Linked DNA regions of Homo sapiens: all the other regions are linked to region 1. The links are contacts of gene promoters, found by promoter capture Hi-C in blood cells and fetal thymus (Javierre and others, 2016). All regions are on one chromosome and are shown on one strand. The core of a region is centred on a gene start or on the middle of the fragment in contact, and the rest is flanking DNA. Distances in the headings are between cores, read along the strand shown. Region 1 holds the start of RALGPS2 (Ral GEF with PH domain and SH3 binding motif 2). Region 2 overlaps SOAT1 (sterol O-acyltransferase 1). Region 3 has its middle 7.6 kb from the start of SOAT1.

Region 1 (2,988 bases), core at 258-2,757:
TCGATCTAATGGTGGACACAGAAAAATACCCAAGTCAACTCATGAACACTGGTAAGAAAAGGCTCTCTATAGCAACTAAAGTGTTGGGGAAAAAAAATCCAGGGAGCATAAACGATAAAGCTCAATTAACTGCTGCTTGTGTGATTCCACTTTATGGTCTTAAATACACAGTAGGCATTAGATATTTCTTTTGGGGTTTTTTTTTTTTAACAGAAATTTAGTATTTCAATTGCCCCTCCTCCACAGCTAACATCAGTGCCCTTTCTTCCTCCTCCCTTACCCCTCCCAACTCAAACAAATTAACATTTGTACTAGGTACCTCCTATCAGCTCGCAGCTTCTTCCCAAACACGCCCACGTACACTGAAACTGGCTTGCGTCTACACAACACACAGCTACAGGAAAAGAGCTTCGAGGGGGGAGCTGGGGCGGGGGGTTAATAATTCGCTCCGCACAGGTTTACGGCTATTTTCCAGAAACTAGTTCCTCGCTCGTGGCTCGCGTTTCTTCCAAATCACCTCAAAAGCACGGTGTTTATGAGCCTACCTAATCCGATACTGCAATGGAATTCCGGATATTTGCAGACAGATCTCCCGGCTTTGCAAGTGTTTGATGAGATACGTTCGGAATCTCCTTTTTTTTCTAGAGCCCGGTTCCAGGCCGTAGAGCAAGCCGACCTGGGGCTGCGGCCCCTGCCCCACACCCGGCCCGCGCGCCCGGCCCGAGGCCAGCACAGGACGCAGCCCCTCCGGGGCCGGGGCTGGCGGGGGCCGCTCGGGCTGCGGGCCGCTCTGCAACAGGTCACCCTGACCGCGACTCCGCGGGTTCGCGGGCGGCCAACTCTGCGGCCAGGCTTCTGGGCGCAGCCGCCAGGGCCAGGGGAGGGGGTGTGGCCCGGCTTCTGCTGGTCCTGGCTCCGAGGTCCGGGATCGGGCTCACCTGAAGGAAGACTGAGGCGCCGCTGGGCGCCAGAACAGAGCGGGCGGAGGCTGGGGGCTTCCGCCACCCAAGAGGGAGAGCGAGGCGGGTTCAAGGGGTCGCAGCGCCCCCGGCTTCAGGACGGCGCCCCCGAGCGGGGACCCCACGGCCGCTCCGACTCTGAGAACCCGCGGCCGAGGGAGGCGCGCCGCCCAGCGCCCTTCTCCCTCAGCCTCAGCCCCAGCTCCGCAGCCCCCTCCCTGCGCGCAGGGCGAGCAGCCCCGGGGCCCGCGGCCGGGAGAGCCACACTCCGCAGCGCCGCCGCCGCCATTCCCCGCGCCGCCCGGGGGGCGCCGCGTACCCACCCTCCCTCCCTCCCTCCCCCGCACCGCCCCGCGGCCTGAGCCCACCGACCTGTGCAGCCGCGGCCGTCGCCTCAGAGGACGGAAAGACGATGCCGGCCTCACGCTTCACCGCCACGGCCGCCGCCGCCTAGAGTAGCACTCGTCGACCCGAACAGTCACCGTCTCTCATTCAGCGCCCGCAGCAGCCGCCGCCGCCGCCGCCGCTGCCGCTCGGGGGAGGAGAGTGAGCTGGAACCACCCCGTCCGCGCCAGGGGTGGGGGACGAGAGCGGACCTGGCGGGGGCGCGCGCCAAGCGGGCGGGGCGGAGCCGCGCGCGCGCGCGCACCAACGGAGCGCGCTCGCGGGGGCTCTGAGAGCTGCAGCCGTCAGGGTCTTAACCTCGCGCTTCCCGCCCGCAGCTTTTCGGCCCCGCGGAGCCCAACTGCCGCCGGTGATCGGTGCCCGCAGCGCGCGCAGCCATCCGCAACCCCACCGCCCGGCGCCTGCTGAAAGGAGGGGCTCCCACCGGCCAAACAACGGGGGGGGGAAGGGGTAGGAGGATGGACAGGTGGGGCGTCCGCCACCGCCTGGCCACCCGCTCCCGGAACGCGGCCCTCTGTGAAATCCGCCGTGATGTCTGTGGCCTTCAGCGCCGGGCTCTTCACCTTTAAGGCCAGAGAACAAAGTCTGGAAGCACTTGGCCCCAAGATCAAATATCCAGCCCACGCCAGCGGTGTTTTTAGAAGTCACTGAGGACAAATGAGGGGGCTCCCAATGTGGAGAGTCACCCCACTGTCTTAGATAAGGTCATAAATTATGGTGATCAACATCCTCACACATTAAGATTCGGGAAGTGTTAGAAGTAGGCCTTTGTAAGATGTTACGCAGGGTACTACCCTTGACTTAAGGAGCAAATGACAGAAATTGGGCGGAAAGGTGTTGTTTCAGAGTCTACTAAATGGGTGGCCTACTTAAAGCTAGCACCATTTGATGCAGTGTGACTGTTAACGGAAGGTTTTAAGTGAGCCGCCTTTGTATCTGCTGTCATTAGACCATTTGGAAATGGATAATTATTTGATGATCTGCAGTTCTTTCTCTAGGCAATGTGCAGTAGAATGTGGAAAGAATACTATGTACCAGCATTAAGTGTAAAACATGAAAGGACCAATAATTCACTATTCCCATTTGGTTTCTTTCTTCCCTTTAATAACCGCTAAACAGAACTGATTAATCTTGAACGTTGAAGATTGCTAATTATTTCCTCCTTTGATTGCCTTCTGTCATAGCCCTTTTACTCTAGTTGGGGACGCTAGAATGCCCTTCAACCTCCTTCTCTCAAATAGGGTTACTTTAAAGCACCCCAACGCAAAGTTAAGTCAAAAAGAAAAACAGCGAGGATAGGCAACAAAGTTCGTAGTGTTTCATTTTTATTCCATTTTACTTTCAAAGAAAGTCTTGAATCATGACGAAATCACTAGAAGAAGTAGAGCAATCAAAAGAAGAAAAAAAGCGTTCCCCCCCACCCAATATTTCAAATGACAAGAGTCCAAAAAAGAAAAGAAAAAGGAAGATGATTGGTAAAAAGGAGGGAAGTGCATTATGTATACAGAAAGTTTTCGCATAGATGTTAGTTGCTTCAAGTCCCAAATAAACAACAACTAAATGAATTAGCACTTGGAGGAAAAACCCCTTCCAGTTATTGAGTTGGGTAAATGTTTAGTCTTCT
Region 2 (2,988 bases), core at 248-2,747, 590 kb before region 1:
TCTACAAAAAAATAAAACAAAAATGTACTTTACCCTACATAATCTTCGGAACAAGTAAGAGAGATCCATTGTTGTACCATACTATTATAGTGATATCTTTAGCAAAAACGGAAATGTGGAGTGCAATCAGGCCCCACTCAGCAGTCCTGGGGAGCTGTGCCTTTCTACCTAGGCTGCTTCCACAGGGTTCTCCCTAACAATCGTACACTTCTATTACTATAGTCAATCTACCGCCAAAGCTACACAGAAGAAAAGAGACAAATAACCAGGCTTGTTAAATTGGTAACTAATTTACTCAATTTATATACTCATGCATTAAGTAAAAGCCCACTGAGGACCCAATACATGCAGGGCAAACCCTCCCTTCAGGATCTCAGGAGAAAACTACAAATAGGGAAAAGGACAATACAGAGGAGCGCTGTGGGAGAATGAGGGGTGTAGGAGGCTTTTGCAGGAGTCAATATTTGAACTGAGTCTCAAATAATAAAGAAAAATTATGGTGAACAAATGCTAGAAACATTATTCCAGGCAAAGGAATGAAGCATGAAGACTTGTTGGATTTTTCTGAGGCCTGAAGCTCAGTCAGATGCCTCTTAATGCCATGCTCTCTTTTCTTGACAATATTGTATTTAATAGGCTTTGGCCTAAGGGAAGCTTATCTACTTACTTTCTAGGCCACCAGTTACATTCCTGATCAGTGTCGTCCTATAAACATACAATGTGTGGCCAGGCACGGTGGCTCACACCTGTAATCCCAGTACTTTGGGAGGCCGAGGCAGGCAGATCACCGGAGGTCAGGAGTTCGAGACCAGCCTGACCAACATGGGGAAACCCCGTCTCTACTAAAAATACAAAATTAGCCAGGCGTGGTGGCGCATGCCTATAATCCCAGCTACCTGGGAGGGTGAGGCAAGAGAATCGCTTGGACCTGGGAGGCGGAGGTTGCGGTGAGCAGAGATAGCACCATTGCACTCCAGCCTGGGCAACAAAAGCAAAACTCTGTCTAAAAAAAATATATATATACATATATATACACACATATACATATATATATACACATATATACACACATATACATATATATATACACATATATACACAGACATACACATAAAATGTGAATCACCATGTGTAATTTTAAAATTTTTAGGAGCCACATTAAAAAGTAAAAAGAAATGGGTGCCAGTAAGTCTCTGAAATCTGACATATCATAACTATAGTGTTTCTCAATCCAGACTAGCCACATTTCAAGTGCTCAACCAGACTACATTAAACAGTGTACTTCTAGTGGCAACCATATTGAACAACGTAATTCTAGATCAAGAGTCAGAAAGCTTTTTCCGTAATGGGCAGTATAGTCTGCAACTATGTAACAACTACTCAACTCTACTGTGATAACAGGAGAAAGCACTACAAACACAAAAGAATGAACACGGCCACGTTTGCCAACTTTGTTCTAGATGGCCAAGTTTACTGTAAATCTGGTTGGCAAATAAAACAGACAAGTACACACACATTATTTTTTATAATGTAACACAGCCATGGTGAACACTGCCGGTTGCTTCCCAAATAAGGACATGCATGTCACTGCCTTTGCGAGAAACTGATTTAAAAATGGACCTGAGTATCAGACAGCAAAGAGATGACCCACTCAAGCTTATTGACTGGGAAAAATTTAAAGAGGTCCTTTTTCTAGTGTGTGGTCAGAGTTTAAGAAAAGCAACAAAGGATGGTAATAAGGATGATATGGAATTCTAGGGCTAGTAATAAACATCAGGAAAGCTGTTACCATCCTGAGGCCAGAAAGGGCAAAGCGGGTAAAGGGTTAGTGGAACCCAGAGAGAACTCTTTAGAGAGAAATATTAGAAAGGAGCAATGGTTACCTACCAGGGAGAGAACCTTAGTTATAAATACACCCACCTTACTCTCTGCTCTTAGATCTCCTGAAGTTCTCCCACTGGCCAAGCCTACCAGAAACACACAGGGCACTGGAGACTATTGTTGCAGTTCTTAACGTCAGTCTCCCAGGAAACAAAGTAGCGTAGAAAAGACTGGAGAGGCAAAAGGTAGATAGCCAGCATAACTTGTAATCTAACTCTGGCCAATGAGACACGAGAAGTCTGTAGGGGAATTTCTAGCGAAGGTTTCATCGCTAAAGAGAAAGACAGGGAAAGAGACAGTTTCTCTTCTGATAGAAGTCATCATTTTGGTTTTCCAGTTTTCTTAACCAGCACGGACTTACTAACCCTCTGTCATTATTTCTATCTGTCCCTTATCACCACCACCAATTTCCTGGACCCACCATGCCACACGCCGACTCCAGAAATTACCCGCTATCTGCCTTCTGATTCCAAATTGCCATGCGCTACAGAAAAAGTTAGGAAAATAGGCCCATTCTAAACTGCTGCAGTCAAGCCTTAGGCAGGCCAGCAATGAAAATATGCAATCTTTGTCTCTGCCTCTTGATGAATTTCTGTGACATTCCTCACAAAAGTAGTTGGAAACCTTTTCCACTTTCAAGTCCCAGCCCCACCAAGTAACTTTTAGTTGTTCAGTTTTGGTACCAAATCCTTAAATGTCTTCTATGTTTCTTAATTTTTGCTGTCTTTCAACCTCTTCTCCAACATTTCTGTGTCAGAGGAAAGAGTAGCCCATCTCTTTTTCAAGACTAACCCTTCAAACTATTATTGTCTTAATCATTCCCTATTCAAAAAGTTCAACCCACTGAGTCAATTATATTGTCCACATTTAAATTCAGAGACAATTTGTTCTTTAAAAATCATGTTTCAGAAATTATGATATGGATGTCATCAGTGATACTGAAAATAAAATCTGTAGTTCTACTAACACTTATCAAGTTATTATATATTTAATTTGTTTTTTAAAAATAAGTAATTGAACATCAAACCTATGATTTAACAATTTATTACTTAGGTTGAGAATAAATTTTCAAGTGAATTTTTTAAAGTTACATAGTAATAGTAATAT
Region 3 (2,988 bases), core at 211-2,710, 560 kb before region 1:
GAGTTAAGGTTTTGTGATTGAGTAAGACAATGAGGCAAGGGTGTAAACCAGGACATAGACCTTCATTGAAATGTTTCTGAAAACTCTTGAAGGGCTGGAATCCTGTCTTGTTTATCTCCCAAAGCACCTAACGCAATACCTATAGGTTACCCAATAAAGGGATTGAATGAATTAAGAAAGCAACTGAAAGCATGAGGTCCTAGAGTGTGGGTCAACCTCAAAGACAACAGGGGTCAGACACATTCCTCCTCTCAGTGATCCATTCATCCATCCATCTTTCTTTCTTTCTTTCTTTCTTTCTTTCTTTCTTTCTTTCTTTCTTTCTTTCTAGACAGAGTTTTGCTCTTTTTGCTGAGGCTGGAGTGCAATGGCGTGATCTTGGCTCACTGCAACCTCCGCCTCCCAGGTTCAAGTGATTCTCCTGCCTCAACCTCCTGAGTAGCTGGGATTACAGGCATGTGCCACCATGCCTGGCTAATTTTTTAGACTTTTAGTGGAGACAGGGTTTCACCATGTTGGCCAGGCTGGTCTCGAACTCCTGACCTCAGGTGATCAACCTGCCTTGGCCTCAAAAAGTTCTGGTATTACAGGTGTGAGCTATGGCTCCCAGCTGATCCAGTCATCATCTTTCAAGCTATATCATCACTTGTTTTTCTGCAAGCAGAAGTCTTTATATACAAGGGAGAGAGTAATCTATGCTGGTTAAGAGAATCCATCCTGCCTACATGGATTTTCTCTAGCTCTAAATAGCAAAGTACATTCTAGGCACCACCAGAAGTGTAATGATAGTTCAAAGATGTACACATATAAGGAAACAGCATCAAGAGTTTCTCAAGCACCACTGGTGAATGGATACTACCATCTGACTGTCCCATGTAGGAATGGAATAACTGCCACACAGCTGTGCTTGCCAATGACGCAGTTCATCTTTTCTGACATTACTACCAGAATTTATTCCTTTCTCCAAAGGAAGGGGCTAATTTTCTTTATTAGCCTAATATGTATTGTTTTTATTTCCATGAGGAAGACAGATTTATTCCTTATTAGATAAATAACACAAGCTTGGCCAGACACGGTGGCTCACGCCTGTAATCTCAGTGCTTTGGGAGGCTAGGTTGGGTGGTTCACTTGAGGCCAGGAGTTTGATACCAGCCTGGCCAACATGGCAAAATCCCATCTCTACTAAAAATACAAAAATTAGCCGGGCGTGGTGGTGCATGCCTGTAATCCCAGCTACTTGGGAGGCTGAGGCATGAGAATCACTTGAACCCGGGAGGCAGAGGTTTCAATGAGTCAACATTATGCCACTGCACTTAAGCCTGGGCAACAGAGCAAGACTCTGTCTCAAAAAACAAACAAATAAACGAAACCACAAGCTTGCTGAAAAATTCAAAAAACATATACGATTATTAAGGAAGAAAATAAAAATCACTCAAAATTGAAATAATCACCTTTAACACTTTAACATGTTGGTGTCCACTCTTTCATAGAATTCTTTATGAATATAAACACATTCAAATATTGAATTTTTTCACTGAAGCTTTTGCATTTGTGAATTTTTCTTAATACACTGTTTTTAGACAGATTCACACTCTGTCGCCCAGGCTGGAATGCAGTGGCATGATCTTGGCTTACTGCAACACCTCTGCCTCCCGGGTTCAAGCAATTCTCCTGCCTCAGCCTCCTGAATAGCTGGGATTACAGGCATCTGCCACCTCACCCGGCCAATTTTTGTATTTTTAGTAGAGACAGGGTTTCACTATGTTGGCCAGGCTGGTCTCAAACTCCTGACCTCAGGTAATCTGCCCGCCTTGGACTCCCAAAGTGCTGGGGTTACAGGCATGAGCCACCACGCATGCCAGGCCTACATACTTTATTTTTTAAAGTATGTTTGTTTTTATTTTGTTTTTTGAGACAGAGTGTTGCTCTGTCGCCCAGGCTGGAGTGCAGTGGCGCGATCTTGGCTCACTGCAAGCTCCGCCTCCTGGGTTCACACCATTCTCCTGCCTCAGCCTCCTGAGTAGCTGGGACTACAGGCGCCTGCCACCACGCCCGGCTAATTTTTTTTGTATTTTTAGTAGAGACGGGGTCTCACTGTGTTAGCCAGGATGGTTTCGATCTCCTGACCTCTCAATCTCAAGTGAACCTCCCAACCTAGCCTCCCAAAGCGCTGGGATTACAGGCATGAGCCACCGCGCCTGACCCAGGTTTGTTTGTGTGTGTGTGTGTGTGTGTGTGTGTGTGTGTGTGTGTGTGTGAAGGAGTCTGGCTCTGTTGCCCAGACTGGAGTGCAGTGGCACGATCTTGGGTCACTGCAACCACTCCCTCCCGGGTTCAAGTGATTCTCCTGCCTCAGTCTCCCAAGTAGCTGGGATTACAGGTGTGTGCCACCACACACGGCTAATTTTTTGTATTTTTAGCAGAGACAGGGTTTCACCATCTTGGCCAAGCTGGTCTTGAACTCCTGAACTCAAGTGATCTCCCCACCTCAGCCTCCCAAAGTGTTGGGATTACAGGATTGAGTCACCCCCCACGGCTTAGAGCAGCTTTAGATTCATGGGAAAGTTAAGCAGAATGTATACGTACCACCTACCCCCATAAGTGTACATATAGCCTCCCCCATTGTCAAAATCCCCCACCTGACTGGTACATTTGTTCCAATTGGTGAACCTGTGTGGACACAGCATTATCACCCAATGTTCATAGTTTACATTACAGTTCACTCTTGGTATTGATATTATTTTTTAAGGGCTTTATTGGTGACCTATAGCTCATCTAGAAGTAATTAATTTATTACCCGGTAACAAAATAGAACTTGATTTTGTTTAGCCCAAGTGTATTCCTCTTTCTGAGTTCACAAAATATGCCTGAGTCAATTTTCTGTATTTAGTAAACTTTTGCTATAATTTTATGTACTTTAATTACATTCCTTTTAAACCTTCACTCTTTGAATATTGAAAATTCCCAGTCTTTCTGGACTATCATACT

The links. The method cuts DNA at HindIII sites, captures the fragments that hold promoters and counts their contacts. A CHiCAGO score of 5 or more calls a contact.
Region 2: a contact is called between a fragment that was not itself captured here and the fragment with the promoter of RALGPS2 in region 1, in 1 of 17 cell types (total CD8 T cells). The highest score is 5.0, in total CD8 T cells.
Region 3: a fragment that was not itself captured here is called in contact with the fragment with the promoter of RALGPS2 in region 1 in 2 of 17 cell types (non-activated CD4 T cells and naive CD4 T cells); the score reaches 6.2 in non-activated CD4 T cells.

What each region holds. Positions count from the first base shown.
Region 1 is chr1:178,723,763-178,726,750 of GRCh38, reverse strand. It overlaps RALGPS2 (Ral GEF with PH domain and SH3 binding motif 2), which reads right to left and starts at 1,507. Exons shown (of 20, transcript NM_152663.5): 1 at 1,332-1,507. It overlaps RALGPS2-AS1 (RALGPS2 antisense RNA 1), which reads left to right and starts at 467. Exons shown (of 1, transcript NR_187252.1): 1 at 467-2,988. RefSeq lists silencers at 698-927, 1,128-1,247, 1,508-1,677, 1,579-1,733 and an enhancer at 568-1,157. The HindIII fragment of the contact is 4,509 bases long and covers 1-2,988 here.
Region 2 is chr1:179,311,620-179,314,607 of GRCh38, reverse strand. The region is part of intron 2 of SOAT1 (sterol O-acyltransferase 1); the gene reads right to left. Among named protein-coding and RNA genes, the nearest start is that of SOAT1, 19 kb to the right of the region's middle. The HindIII fragment of the contact is 322 bases long and covers 1,337-1,658 here.
Region 3 is chr1:179,284,669-179,287,656 of GRCh38, reverse strand. No RefSeq gene overlaps it. Among named protein-coding and RNA genes, the nearest start is that of SOAT1, 7.6 kb to the left of the region's middle. The HindIII fragment of the contact is 164 bases long and covers 1,379-1,542 here.